3 separate regions of the Homo sapiens genome follow, and all the other regions are linked to region 2. The links are contacts of gene promoters, found by promoter capture Hi-C in blood cells and fetal thymus (Javierre and others, 2016). All regions are on one chromosome and are shown on one strand. The core of a region is centred on a gene start or on the middle of the fragment in contact, and the rest is flanking DNA. Distances in the headings are between cores, read along the strand shown.

Region 1 (4,902 bases), core at 2,269-4,768, 1.2 Mb after region 2:
TATTACCCATCTTTCCAAATGTTTAGGTGTACAAAACATTCAGATACAGTTGCGATTTCGTTCCTAGATACAAAGTAGTTTTTCAGTTCCAGAGAATTACAAGTCATTTTGACTTGTATTCTTTGACCAGCTCTTCATAAGTCAAGAAAAGTAACAAGATGGTGCACAAAATGTCAAAAGAAAACAAGTCTGGAAACTTGCATTGAGTAACTAGTCGCTAAGAGGAATCAATTGCCTTTAACCCGGAGAGAGAGTCCCTCGCACTACCCAGCCAAGCAAACAGAACAAGGTCGTGACCCTGGGTCACGGCCGCCAGTACCGCTCCCGCCCGGCAGCGGGGAAGCCACCTGTTAGGCCCGAGCCTCACCTGGCAGGAAAGAGGAAGCGATTGCCCGGCAGCTCGCCCGACGCGAGGGCGGTGAGCGTGGAACCCGCCCCTCTTGCTGCAGCGGCTAGACCCCCGTCGGCACGTGGGCTTCACCCAGGCCCCGGCAGCTCTGACAGGCGGGTCGCCCGCGGACCCCGGCCCGCCGTCTCGCGCAGGTCCCCGGGGCAGGACCCCCGTTTCCCTCGCAACCACCCCGCCGAGCGGGCGTCCCAGCGGCCCACACCGCCGGTCCGCCCTGCTTCCCTTCCTTCCCGGACGGCGCGATCCCGCCCTGCAGCCCCTCACCTACCTGGTCACGGAGTTTGAGGAACGCCATGGCGGTCGCCTCCGCGCCCACTCCAGCCTCCTCCTCCTCCGCCGCTGCCGCTGCCGCCGCCGACCGGCCCACTGCTCCCGCCCCAGTAGCCTTGGCCGCTGCCCGGGACCAGCGGGTCCGCGGCCGACTGCGCTGAGAAGACCTGCGGGCAGGGGGCGGCGCCGCCTCCCCGGCCGCCCGCCGCCGCCGCCGCCGCCGCCGCCGCCGAGAGGTGAGGTGCCCGGCCGGTCCCGCCTCCTCCTCTGAGGACTCCCCGCCCTCTTCCTTCCTTTCTTTCTCCTTCCCTCTGCTGCCTGCCCTACCCGCCGCTGCCGCCGCCGCCTCCTCACGCCCCCTTCCCGAAATACCCTGGCAGCCCCCGCGGCCGCGCCGTTCCAGCCCGCGGCAGCGGCGGCATCCAAACTCCACAATATTACCACCACCGCCCGCCGCGATTGGCGGCCGCGCGGGGGAGAGGCCAGAGTAAGCCGAGCGCCCATTGGCCACGCCGCCGCGCTCGCTGGTGACCCCCCCGCCTACCGCGACGGGAGGGGCATGCGGAGGAAGCCGCAAGGGTGGGCGCGGGGCCGCGGCTCGGGCGGGGCGGGGGAGTCGGCAGGGGTGCGGGCCGGGGGAGGGCGGCCAGGTGTCCCGGCTCCCAGGCGCTGCCGCCTCAGGCGTGGTAGGCGGAGTCCGGGGCGGAGGTGGCGTGGGGAGGTGGGGAACGGCCCGGGACTCGCACGTGGAGGTGGAGCGCGGACGCCTCCCTCAGCCAGGGCAAGACTAAGGAGCTGGGTGAGGGACCGGAAGGGCTGGAAGGGGTGGGCACCTGGGGGCTGCGGCGAGTGGCGATGGGCGAGCCGGACTTGCACGTGGAGAAAGCGTGAGAATGTGCCCCTGGGTTTGGGGAGGGTGGGGAGCCAAGGAGTGGGATGAGAGGTGGTCACGGAATGGGGGGCGCTGCTGTCCTCCCCGGGGGCTGCAGGCCGAGACCGGGTGAGGGGCGGGGGTGATGCTGGCACTCTGGACGGAAGGGCGTCGTCTTCGCAGCCGAACAGGTTGTGGACGCCCAATCGTTTTTCTGCCCGTAGTCCCAATCCGAAGCTAAGCTGTGTGGTTTTCCCTTGAAAGCTCCCCAGCCAGGCTTGCTGCCTCCACCCCTTTCGCATCTGAAGCATTTTGCCTCCCACTCGAGAGAAATCAATTTTCTTAAACAAACAAAAAAAAAGATGTGCAGGATTTCTAATAAATAGCATCCTTGGATGGAGGAGAAGAGGAATGACTCCCTCATCCTGCCACACACACCCCCACGCCACCCCGCAGCTCTGAAACGGCTTTTCTTTCTTAGCCAGCCGCACGCTGTTGCCATTCCAGGCTCGTGTGGGAGAAGATTGTTGTGCGCCTGGGTCTGTCCGCCCGGGCGGCTCCAGCCTCTGGTTTATAAAAGGTGCAGATGGTTAAAACACAAACGTGTGACGTCAGGGTCGGTTTTTAAAAGTCTCTTCTACCCACTACATCAGTTGTGTCTCTTGGGATGGACTTTAGAGAATCGATTCGAGCCTAATGGCAGTCTAGAGAAATGGAGATCTTCGTCAGGACTATCAGATTATTGTAATGCTGCACTTATAACAAAAAACTTAGATTTAGCCACGCAAAAAAAAAAAAAAAAAAGAAAATAGAGTGCAAGATAAAAAAACACACCTGATTAACTGATAGTACGACCCTTCCAATATTCTTTGAGATATCCATGCTATGGTTCCATTGAAACAATTTCTTACCTAAAATTATGTCCCTCGTCATGATATTTTCTACTTAAAATGGAGGAATTCTCATAACTGTGATCTAACCGTCATAATGAGGCTAAAAAGGAAATCAAACTGCTCTTGCTTTGCATTCTCTTCAGTAGCTCCTTTACCCTTTATTTCAACTCCAGCAGATAAAATAGAGATACTATTTGTCACCCAACCCCTCCTTATCAGTTCAGTGAGGGTGAATGAGTTAATGTCGTGAAAGCACTTGAGTTCTCCAAAACAAAGATGTTGTGATAATATTACTACAGTACTTTGTGATTACAAGTTAGCTTTGTAAATAATTACCAATGTGCCATATCCAGTCGTGTTCTATCTTGGCCTAGGAGTGTTAGGATTTACCCTCATTTATAAGTAAGCCTGTTAAGCACTATGGATGTTGAGCCAGGAATTAATATAGCCCTCCTCTTCCCACCAAATAATCTCTCCTCTAGGTTAAATTTCTAGAATTTAAAAACACAATGAGAACCTGATTAGGAACATGGCAAAGATGATTTTTTGGGAGAATGTAAGTGTGTTTGAGAGTATGAATTTATGGACTAAATATGCATTTTAATAGATTTTGTGATTGAAGCTAATGAAACTTTCCAGGACTCTTTTGAAATTTTCTAATTAACAGTAATTAATGAAAATGTTTTATGATGTACCATCTGCATTATAGTAGGCATGGAGCTCTCCTTATAGATGATGCTTCACACCTAGCTGGGTTCTCACCCTTCTGCACCATGAGCACCATTTAACTTCTCTGTGTCTCAGTTTCAACATTCATAAAAAAACTAAGCTTAACATTTCCTGGCCTACTCATCTCACACCATCAGATAAGATAGTGATATGAAAGGCTGTGGAAAACTCTGAAGGACCATTACACTATATTATTATTATGACAGCAATTACAGGGTACTTCAAATGTTTGTGGGAAATAGAATTAAAGGTTAAAATTGAAATATAAACTTTATTTCTCAACATACGATTTGTCAAGTTCAAGATGATAAGCAATGATACCAGCCATTTAGTTCATCCTTAAAGAACCGAGGGTCCTGGGAATTCATGTCAATGCAGTCTTTTTTACAGTAATAATGTAATGTTAATAACAGAAGAAAAATGCATGCCTTTTAAAGAATTGTTAAGATTAGGAAACAAAAATAAGTCAGAAGGAGCCAAATTAGGAGTATGAGGTGGATGCCTAACGGGTTTCCATCAAAATCCTAACAAAATTGCCTTTGTTTGATGAGAGGAATGAGCAGGAGCATTATGTTGGAGAAGGACTCTCTAGTGAAGCTTTATTGAACATTTTCCTGCTAAAGCTTTTACTAACTTTCTCAAAAATACTTTCATAATAAGCAGATGTTATCATTCATTGTCCCTCCAGAAAGTCAAGCAAAATCTCTTGAACATCCCAAAAGACTGTTGCCAAGACCTTTGTTCTTGACTGATTTGCTTTTGCTTTGGCTGGACCCTTCCACCTGTTGGTAGCCATTGCTTTGATTGTGCTTTGTCTTCAGGATCATAATAGTAAGGCCATGTTTCATCTGTTAGAATTCTTTGAAGAAGTGTACGAGTGTTTTAGGGTCTTGACCCTACTTGTTTAAAATTTCTATTGACAGCCTTTCTCTTGCCTGAAACTGATCTGGGCCCAATGGTTTGGGCACCCATTGAGTTGAAAGTTTGCTCAACTTTAATTTTTCAGTCAGAATTATGTAAGCTTAACCAATTGAGATGTCTGTGGTGTTGGCTCTTGTTTGTGCGGTTAATCGTCAGTCTTCTTCAATTAGGATACAAACAAGATATTTTCCTCACAAATTGATGTGGATGGTCTGCCACTGTGGGCTTTATGTTTGACATCGTCTTGTCCCTTCTTCAAATGAGTTATCCATTTGTAAACTGCTTATTTTGGGGGGCAGGGGGCATTGTCCCCATAAACTATTCATAAAGCATCAATGATTTCACCATTCTTCCACCCAAGCTTCACCATAAACTTGAGGTTTGTTCTTGCCTCAATTTTAACAGAATTCATGTTGTTCTGATACGGGCTCTTTTCAAACTGACGTCTTATCCTTCTTAGTGCTGCAAACTGTATCCTGTTCAGATACATTATAACAAGTTAATATAAGTTTATGTTGGTGAAAAAAAATTGAAATCCAGCGAGACACAGTGGCTCATGGCTGTAATCCCAGCACTTTGGGAGGCCAAGACAGGTGGATCACTTGAGCCCAGGAATTTGAGACCAGCCTGGCCAATGTGGCCAAAGCCTGTTTCTACTAAAAATACAAAAATTAGCCAGATGTGGTGGTGCGTGCCTGTAATACCAATAATTTGGGTGGCTGAGGCACAAGAATCACTTCAGCCTGGGAGGCAGAAGTTGCAGTGAGCCAAGATGGCACTCCAGCCTGGACAATGGAGCAAGACTCTGT
Region 2 (4,364 bases), core at 596-3,095:
GACAGAACATTCCACTCCATTAAGAAAAGAGAATCACAACATTATTAGGCCCGATTATCTCATATTGCTTACTGTTCTAATTTCAGAGACTGGCGGACTTGGAGAAATAAACAAATGAAAATAAATAAATAAGACTGAACACAGTCAACTGCCTCAATTCCCCTCTCCTTTTCCCTTTTCCCATTTTCTCCATAAAGACAGATGAGATGAGGATGTGATGAGTCTCATTTTTCTTCTCTCTAATATGGTGGATAATAGGTCCGCTTCTAGGATTCTTGCAAGGATTATATAATATAATCTATGCAAAGAGTCATACACATGCCCCACATATACTAAATGCCACTGTTACAATCATTATGATCACTTTCGTCTTGCTGCTGTAACAAATTGCCACAAGTTTGGTGGCTTAAAACAACACAAACGTATTCTGGTAGAGTTCTGGAAGTCAGAAGTTTGAGATGAGTGTTACAAGACTAAAATCACCGTGTCAGCAATGCTGCATTCCTTCTGGAGACTCTGGAGGAGGGCTCATTTCTTTGCTTTTTCTAGCGGCCTCCTGCATACCTAGGCATGTGGTCCCACTCTCCCTCTTCAAAGCATCTCTGATCTCTGTCTGACTCTGGCCATCCTGTCTACCCCTTATAAGGATGGTTTTGATGATAGGGGACCCACCTGCACAATCCAGGCTAGCTCCCCATCTCAATCGCTTTAATTTCATCATCTCTGCCAATTCTCTTTTGCTATATAAAGGTCACCATATACCCAGATTCTGGGGATTAGAAGGTAGACATCTGGGAGTCGGGGTGAGGGTGATTGGTCTGTCTACCATAATCATTAACATTTTTATCAAGACTAGCTCATTTAACTCATCTAATCCTCACTAAGACCCATTAGGTAAATAAAATTATATCCCCCTTTGGAAACTGAGGCACACGGAAGTTAAGTAACTTGCCCAAGGTCACACAAGCAGTAAGCCGTGAAGAGCGATTCCAACCCAGAAAGTCAGCTTTCGAGTTCACGTGTTCTTTGTTTTTTTTTTTTTTGATCTCGACTCACTGCAACCTCCACCTCCCAGGTTCAAGCGATTCTTCTGCCTCAGCCTCCTGAGTAGCTGGGAATACAGGCGCGCACCACCACGCTCGGCTAATTTTTTTTTTTTCTTGTATTTTCAGCAGAGACGGGGTTTCACCATGTTGGTCAGGCTGGTCTCAAACTCCTGACCTCCTGATCCACCCGCCTCAGCCTCCCAAAGTGCTGGGATTACAGGCGTGAGCCACCGCGCCCGGCCCAGGAGTTCACGTTCTTAAGAGCTGAAATATGTAAAGTGGCCCATAATAAGCACTACATTAATGTTAGCTATTATTCTTGTTATTTCTACTAAGATTAATATAATAATCCTTATCTCGTACGCTCTTTTAAGAACCAACTATTTAACGTGTGAAAAGTGCCAGGCAGCAGGTCCTGGAATTGCAGTTAAGATTCTTCCGGTCCTCCCAATCCACCTTTCCCGAGACGCTCGAGTTCACTTACTTAAGCGTCAGCCTTCCCCAAGATGGCGTTATCTTTGTCGCCAACCCCACATCCGCCCCACCCAATATGGCGTCCATCGCAATCAAAAGCTTTATTCCGCCCTTCTCAAGATGGCGCCCACACCAATCCTTGTTACCTTCCGCCCTCAAGATGACCTTAGCAGTTAGCGTCAACCTCCGCACTCTATGACCTTTCCAAAATGATGGTGAACGTAATACGCACCACACTCTGACCTTCTCAAGATGGCGCTGAGCTGACAAACTCGCGTCGCAAACTCACGCAAACTCAGTGTCGCTGTCGAAGACACTTCCGGTTGCGACGGAGGTAGGCTTACGAGGCCTGTGTCGGGTAGAAAGGGTCCTTCCTGGACCGGGACCCTCTGCCACGACCATGGACCGTAGGAAAAAGCCTTTGGACGTCACGGCCTCCTCGGTGAGTGAGGGTATGAGGTAACTCCACGGGCTCCGGGTTCACCGTGTCTCCATCAGACAAGAATGTCGACCTAGCTTGTTTCTTCACTCGGGGACCCAGAGACCTGACCTCTCCCCTCAAACAGGAACCCCCGAACTGGATTTTCTTCTCCGGCGGGGATCCGGTTCAGTTTTCTTACAGGACCCTGAATTGGGCTACTCTCCTCTGACATGCGCCCGGGCCAGAACCCTCGGACACGGATCTGAACCTGGTGTCCCGTGGGTTAGGAAACTCCGTGCCTCACCTCTGCCCTGCCCACAAGGACCTGCACCTCGTCAGCCTTCTCCCTTACAGTCAGGAGGAACCCTAGCTTCTTTTTGCTATGCAGACATATCCTCTTCCTGGTTTCTCCTCCATCCAGGGACCCACAAAGTCCTCCCAGAACTTTAGAGTGTGACATATTTCGCAGGACCCGAAAGTGTCCAGCGTGCCCTCCCTGGAACTAAACAGTTGTTAATGCAGGCATAGGGAGTTGTGAGGTCTGAAAGGATGTAAGCAGATTTATTACATCAGCTACTCTAGAAAGAAAACTTGTTCTAAGTACACATTTTGTGCCAGCACTTTATATGCACTATCTCATTGAATCCTCCCAATGGCTTTAGGAGGTAGGTGCTATTAATATCTCCGTTTTATGGATGATGAAATTGAGGCCTGGAAAGATGAAGTAGCTTTCCCCAGCTTACAGACAGAAATCTTAGTGATAGCCGGGCGCGGTGACTCACGCCTGTAATCCCAACACTTTGGGAGGCTGAGGCGGGCAGATCACCTGAGGTCGGGAGTTTGAGACCAGTCTGACCAACATGGAGAAACCCCGTCTCTACTAAAAATAAAAAAATTAGCCGGGCGTGGTGGTGCACGCCTGTAATCCCAGCTACTCGGGAAGCTGAGGCAGGAGAATCGCTTGAACCGGGGAGGCGGAGGTTGCGGTGAGCCGAGATCGCGCAATTGCACTCCAACCTGGGCAACAAGAGCGAAACTCCGTCTAAGGGGCGGGGGGCGGGGGGAAGAAATCTTAGTGATAGACCCTTTCTCACTCACTCTACTTGACTCCAAAGCTGCTGCCTTTTCATCATCAGAGCAAATTGCCCAACCTTTGATTTAATCTTGAATTTACTTCAGAGTATTAGGACACAAAGTGAGTAGGAAGGAAAACATATAGGTGTCCCAATATTTGAGTACTAGTTATTATTGGTAACTATTATTGGTTAAAATTGGTACCAGTTATTATTTTGTTTGAAGATCAGGAACCAGAAAGCTATAAATATTAAAGCCAACCTATACTGACAGGTTAGCAGTAATTGTAATAAGAATGCTATTTGAGAATTTACATTTTTTTGAGCATCTCTTAAAGTTAAAGGCAGTTGTAGACTAGGAAGATATGTGGCTGGAAAATTTGGTGTGGTTAAGTAAGCTTAGAAGAAAAAGTAGAAGTTTTTCATTTGTTTTTAAAAATTTCCAGTATTAGGGTCTGCAGTGAAACTGCCCTTTGCATTATTAAATGGTTACCTTTTAAATCGATTTCTTCCAAAACGGAAATTGAACCCAGCCATTTTTATCTTCCTTAACAAATAAAGTGATTTTTTTAAGTATCTGATGATTAAGACAGTGATGAAGTATCTGATTTACAAATGCCCATCCATATAAGCAGCTGTACCTGGACCATTAAAAAGGAAACTGTTGTTATATCCTTTTTTGCAGAGTAGGCAGGGGTAATTAATGTAGCTGAGGGAAAGGTACTAATATTCACCCAACTGCCCCACTCCCTATGCCTTGGCCTTCTTTCCTGTTCTTGAACCGTGTGATTCAGCCAAGCTTACGGTTTTTGAAATGGATTAAGTCAAACGTGGAGCTGTTATAATTCACCCAGTCTATTTTATTTCTAGCTGTTGAAATAATGTGTCTTTAAAGGCTCTGCTCTAAGCTTTCTCTGATCACTCTGCTCAGAAGGAAATGCTCTGTTATCTGAACTTATGTGCTACTTTCTTCCACTCTAGAGTCATTTGTTTTATTTTGTTGGTAGTATAAATTACTTTCCTTGTTACATTGTAGGCTCTTTGAGGCAGAGAGTATGTCTAATTCATGTTTATGTTCTGCTCTTCAGCGTTATTTCTACAGCATTTCACTGTAGAAATAAGTTGTGATGATGAAATGAGTGCAGTGCTAGTCAGAGAGAAGGTGCTTAATAATGCAAGTTTAATCTGAAACTAAAAGATGCAGACTTTATTAATTTATTTTGCTTTATCACTTTCTCCTTGCCTAAGGAAAGCCTCGAGTGTTGAAAGTCAGAGTAAAAATGCATTTGCAGCAGAGGTAGAATGAAACATGACTTAGCTTAATTTGTGTACTGGATTCTACATTTAAAC
Region 3 (4,979 bases), core at 1,375-3,874, 1.2 Mb before region 2:
GCAGTAGCGTGATCTCAGCTCACTGCAACTTCCGCCCCTGGATTCAAGCTCCTCCTGCCTTGGCCTCCTGAGTAGCTGGGATTACAGGCACCTGCCACCACACCTGGCTAATTTTTGTACTTTTTAGTAGAGATGGGATTTCGCCATGTTGGCCAGGCTGGTCTTGACCTCCTGACCTCAGGTGATCCGCCCATCTTGGCCTCCCAAAGTGCTGGGATTACAGGCGTGAGCCACCGCGCCCAGCCGTGCCTGTATTTTTCAAAAGAAGTGTTATATTTGGGACTTTCTTATTTGTTTTAAGTTGAAATATATTTCAATATTGCATGAAAGGGGAAAAACAGTTAAGTATACAATGTTCAATAAGTCAGTGTCTTGTTTCATTAAATGCCATTTAAAAATAAAATACATATGGTTAAAAAGTGAAAAAATGTATTTCTTCAAAGGGGCCTTCCCTGACCACTGTCCAAATCAGGGACCCCATTATTCTCTCTCTCACAGTCTCAGCCTATGCCTTTCACAGCAGTTACCACATTTTGTAATCACAATTTTCCTTCCTAGGTTAAGGCTTGTCTCTCCCACTAAACTATTAGCTTGACAAAGGCTTTCTGAACTCATCTGCTCTGTGCAGCTGTGTCCCCAGTGCTGTGTCTTAGTGAGCAGACACACTAGGATACTGCAACAAAGAGGCCCCCAAACACAGCAGCGTGCATAACACTTATTTCTTCCCCACGTGATAATGCGGCCGGTTGGCCCAGGCTTTCATGGTGGTTTGAAGGTGTTCACAAGCTCCAGGGCCTCCGCAGACCACTTAACTCTTTAGCTACCAGGACACAATTTTAAAAACCCTTGGCCAGGCATTGTGACTCATGCCTGTAATCCCAACACTTTGGAAGGCCAAGGTGGGAGGATCGCTTGAGCCCAGGAGTTAGACACCAGCCTTAGCAATATAGTGAGGCTGTGTCTCTTAAAAAATAATTTAAAAATTAAAAAAATTTAAAAACCCACTTATTCAGACCAATCCCACTCTCTTTGGCCTCAGCTTCAGGTCCAGGCTGCCCAGATCCTCATTCTCCCAACCAGAGGATCATCTGTGTGGCTTCCCAAACTACAGAGCAAGTTCCCTGAGGGGAAGTCGGTCTCTCACAAATGCCACAGGGCCACTGCATGCACTCTGTCACTTTATAAAATAGTACTTATTCCTTCTGTGGTTTACATCTGCCCACATCCCTGACCTTTGAGTGAGTTACTTCACCATTCTGTGCCTCAATTTCTTTATCTATAAAATGGGGATGACAATAGTTTGCCTCCTAGGACTGTCAGAAGAGTTCGACAAGCAAAAAGCATTTGGACTTCAACTTAGCACATGACAGATGGTCTCTGAATAATAATCAACATTATTGTCTCTTGATTCCCTGGACTTGCCCATGAAATCCAGAGAATGAAGTGCAACCAGAACTTCATTTTCTTCCTTTTTTTTTTTTTTGAGATGGAGTCTCACTCTTGTCGCCCAGGCTGGATTGCAATGGCGCGGCCTCACCGCAACCTCCCCTCCCCGGTTCAAGCGATTCTCCTGCCCCAGCCTCCCGAGTAGCTGGGATTACAGGCGCCCTTCATCACGCCCAGCTAATTTTTTGTATTTTTAGTAGAGACGGGGTTTCACCATGTTGGTCAGGATGGTCTCGAACTCCTGACCTCAGGTGATTCACCCGCCTCGGCCTCCCAAAGTGCTGGGATTACAGGCGTGAGCCACCGCACCCGGCCCAGTACTTCATTTTCAGATGCAGACATGAAGGACCAGAAGGCTGAAGCAACCTGCCCAAAGCCACTATGCTGGCGGGTGGCCGAGTTTGGGTTTAATCCAGGCCCGAACCTCAGTTCCCTCAAGATAAAGTTGGGGTGATTATGGCACCTTTCTCAGGATTAGGTTGTGAGGCTCAGATGCCATCATGCAATCATGGCAGGCACACGGGGGCCCCTCTTCAAACGTCTGTGCGCTTCCCTTGTGCCCCGCCCTGGCACACAGCCGCCCCCGCGGAGCCCAGGGATCCCAGCCCGGCAGTCCTCCGTCAGCTGCTTCTGTTTGGATGGCGGGGACGGCTGGGCCGACAGAGAGGCCCATTGTCTCCGTCCTCTGGGGCTCTATTGTTGGGGCCTCCTCCTGGGTTGCAGCCCCACGGACAACCCCAGCTGTCGCTTGGGCCTGGCTCAGCTTACCCCGGCGGTGAGGGTGCGGGTCGGGGACGGAGACGCGTGCACCCTGAAGACAGTAACTAGGCCTGCTCTACAGAGGGAAACGCAGGCTCTGAGAGCCTACATGTCTTCGCCGGGAGTGCTTGTCCCGGAGCTGCTCGCAGACTGGGCCGGGGGTGGGCTCGGGTCGGAGAGGTCACGGGGCTCCTTAGGTCACAGGCGGCAGGGCCAGAGAAACTCCCCCGCCCCTACGTTTAACTCGCGGAAACAAGGGCCCAGAGAGCCCAGACGCCAGCCCAAGGTCACACAGCGAAGCCCCGGCACAGCCCGCCGGGAACCTGTCGTTTCTAACCCCCAGCCTCTCGCCGTTTCTACCCAGCTTGGGAAGCGCAGGAACAGGACATACGGTGGTCGCGCCCCTTCCGCGAGGCCGGGGTGAAACCCGCTTGGCCCTCCCGCCAGGGGGCGGAGCTTCCGAACCAGGCGGGATTCCACCGGGTATTTGCCTGCGGAGGCGGGACTTCGGGCTTGATGGGCGTTGGGGGTGGCCTTCCTGCGGGCAGGCTCTCTGTGTCGCAACACTGGCGGGGCGGGCCAAATCGGCCAGAGCTCTGCCCCCAGAGGACGCGGCTAAGCCCGGGGGCGTGTCCTGGGCTGGCCCCACCCGCGCCCCGCCCCGCCCCGCCCGGTCGCGGAGCTGCGGCCAGCTTTGGGAGGGCCGGCCCCGGGATGTGAGTGCCGCGGGGCGAGGGCGGGGGTGGGCTCCCAGGGGTCCCGGTGGGCGGGCGCGCTAGGGCGAGGGCGGGGACGGCCGGGCGGGCGCGCCAGGTAAGGGCCCAGATTTGCTGGTGAGGGGTGAGGGACGCTCGGGACGGGTGTTTCCAGGCCCTCCCGGCGCGCCAGGCCAGCCCCGCGCCCCTGCTCGGTGGCCCGAGGGACGCGCGCCGGCCGCGGGCCTGGGCCCGGACCCGGAGCGGTCGGGCGATGTGCGCGGGTCTGACGTCTGCGCTGCCCAGCCCCCTGGCTACGCGGACGCCCCCACGGAGGCAGCCACTGGGGCGGATTTCTGTCTCTGGGTGACGACTGCCAGGGTGTGATGGGAAGGGTTAGCAGCGCAGCGGGGTCAGGGGATCCCCGCCCCCCGCCCTGGCTCAGGTTGGGTCCCGACTTGGGTTTCTGAGTGCTTACTGTGCTCAGCTCCTCAGTTGCATTCTCTGAGTCCTCACAACAGCCACACATTTTGCAGCCGAAGCCTTGTGCCACACAGCTGTGGGGGCATTTATTACGGTGCAGAGGTGATGCGCGGAGGCCTTGCAGCCAGACACACCTGAGTGCACGCCTGCTTCTCCACAGACCTGCACTGTGACCTTGGGCACACCTGGTCTGCTCTCTGAGCCTCTGGTGCGATTGTGGTGCCTACCCCCAGGGCTGCTGTGAGGACTGGATTGGAATTGGGTTCCGGGAAAGGCAGCCAGTTTAAGCAGCTGTTGTTGAGGGGCCCTTGTCTGCGGCTGAGGGGCTAGTGGTGCTGGGCAATGGCTGGTGGGTCAGTCCAGGCGGGCTCGGGAGGGAGCTGCTTTCTGCCGAGGCTGCCCCAGCTGTGCGTCTGTCTTTTTCCACACGGTAGGCTACACACAACCCAGCTGTACCAGCATGTGCCAGAGACACGCTGGCCAATCGTGTACTCGCCGCGCTACAACATCACCTTCATGGGCCTGGAGAAGCTGCATCCCTTTGATGCCGGAAAATGGGGCAAAGTGATCAATTTCCTAAAAGGTATGGAAGGTCCCCCTTGGACTCTCATCTGCTTCCTCCAACCCACCTGTCCTCTCCGTCCTCATCCCCAACATAAGCCTCAGGCTCTCTCCCATCTTCAGTTTCAGCCCTCGGATGGCCTTCCACCCATGCTTCCGCCCAAAATGATTTTTCCAACACAGACTCCTAATCACGATATGATGTCCCTGACTCAGACTCTCCCTGGCTCCCCATCCTGTGGGCCTAAGTCCTGCCTCTGCCCAAGAGGCCTAGTGGAAAGGTAGCTGATTACTGATGGGCACAGGGAAGGTGAAGCTTGGAGGAGTCCATTTCCTAAGGTTCAGAGAGTCAGGAGGTAGAGCACCTCCACCGCACCTCTCTTGATTACAGATGGGGGAAATTGTGTCCTAGAATGATTAGGAAACATGTGCACCCAATTCCAGTCCAGTCCTCACAGCAGCCCTCGGGGTAGGCACCACAATCGCAGCAGAGGCTCAGGAGCTCACTGTAACCTCCGCCTTTCAGGTTCAAACAATTTTTCTGCCTCAGCCTCCCAAGTAGCTGGAATTACAGGCGTGAGCCACCACACCCGGCCCTGATTTCTTAATATGGCACTCATTATAAGATTGTAAAAGCCCACCTGTAGACCGAACTGGGCACACTGGCTGCCTGCTTGTGACCTCTTTCCAGGGAAGGACACAGCTCCCATTAGTGGCTGAAGTAACACAGTTACAAGAGGCGGAGTTGGGTTTGGAACTCAGAGCTCCAGGCGCCCTACCTTTAGGGCTCATCCCCTTGAGCAAAATGATGCTTCGAAGAGCATATCGTTTTAACTGTGGTTTGTAATCAAGGGGCCTGATTTAGGTGGGAAATTCACTTAAACTTGTTTTAAAAGGAAACATTATGTCATCAAAATGGGAAAAGGCAGTTTCACTTGCCATAAATAGGTCATGGTAAAAAAGTAAATGCAATGAAAACAACAGTATAATTCAATCCAGGCTGGTTACTATTGCCTGCAGGCTGTGAGACTGATT

Evidence for each region. The method cuts DNA at HindIII sites, captures the fragments that hold promoters and counts their contacts. A CHiCAGO score of 5 or more calls a contact.
Region 1: a contact is called between a fragment that was not itself captured here and the fragment with the promoter of CCDC174 in region 2, in 1 of 17 cell types (total B cells). The highest score is 6.2, in total B cells.
Region 3: the fragment with the promoter of HDAC11-AS1 here is called in contact with the fragment with the promoter of CCDC174 in region 2 in 3 of 17 cell types (total CD8 T cells, naive CD4 T cells and total CD4 T cells); the score reaches 6.4 in total CD8 T cells.

The regions. Positions count from the first base shown.
Region 1 is chr3:15,858,700-15,863,601 of GRCh38, forward strand. It overlaps LOC107986064 (a long non-coding RNA gene), which reads left to right and starts at 1,415. Exons shown (of 10, transcript XR_007095831.1): 1 at 1,415-1,566. It also overlaps a transcript of ANKRD28 not described here. RefSeq lists silencers at 443-692, 753-1,032, 1,113-1,432. The HindIII fragment of the contact is 497 bases long and covers 3,271-3,767 here.
Region 2 is chr3:14,649,917-14,654,280 of GRCh38, forward strand. CCDC174 (coiled-coil domain containing 174) reads left to right here and starts at 1,846. Exons shown (of 11, transcript NM_016474.5): 1 at 1,846-1,962. The coding sequence starts at 1,921. LOC124909347 (a long non-coding RNA gene) reads right to left here and starts at 2,205. Exons shown (of 2, transcript XR_007095826.1): 1 at 1,753-2,205; 2 at 1-1,310. RefSeq lists enhancers at 1,387-2,045, 1,549-1,948, 2,089-2,158. The HindIII fragment of the contact is 1,793 bases long and covers 1,618-3,410 here.
Region 3 is chr3:13,477,429-13,482,407 of GRCh38, forward strand. It overlaps HDAC11-AS1 (HDAC11 antisense RNA 1), which reads right to left and starts at 2,625. Exons shown (of 2, transcript NR_046690.1): 1 at 2,215-2,625. HDAC11 (histone deacetylase 11) reads left to right here and starts at 2,878. Exons shown (of 10, transcript NM_024827.4): 1 at 2,878-2,921; 2 at 3,818-3,966. The coding sequence starts at 2,920. RefSeq lists enhancers at 2,234-2,293, 2,943-3,599 and a silencer at 2,754-3,243. The HindIII fragment of the contact is 8,461 bases long and covers 1-4,258 here.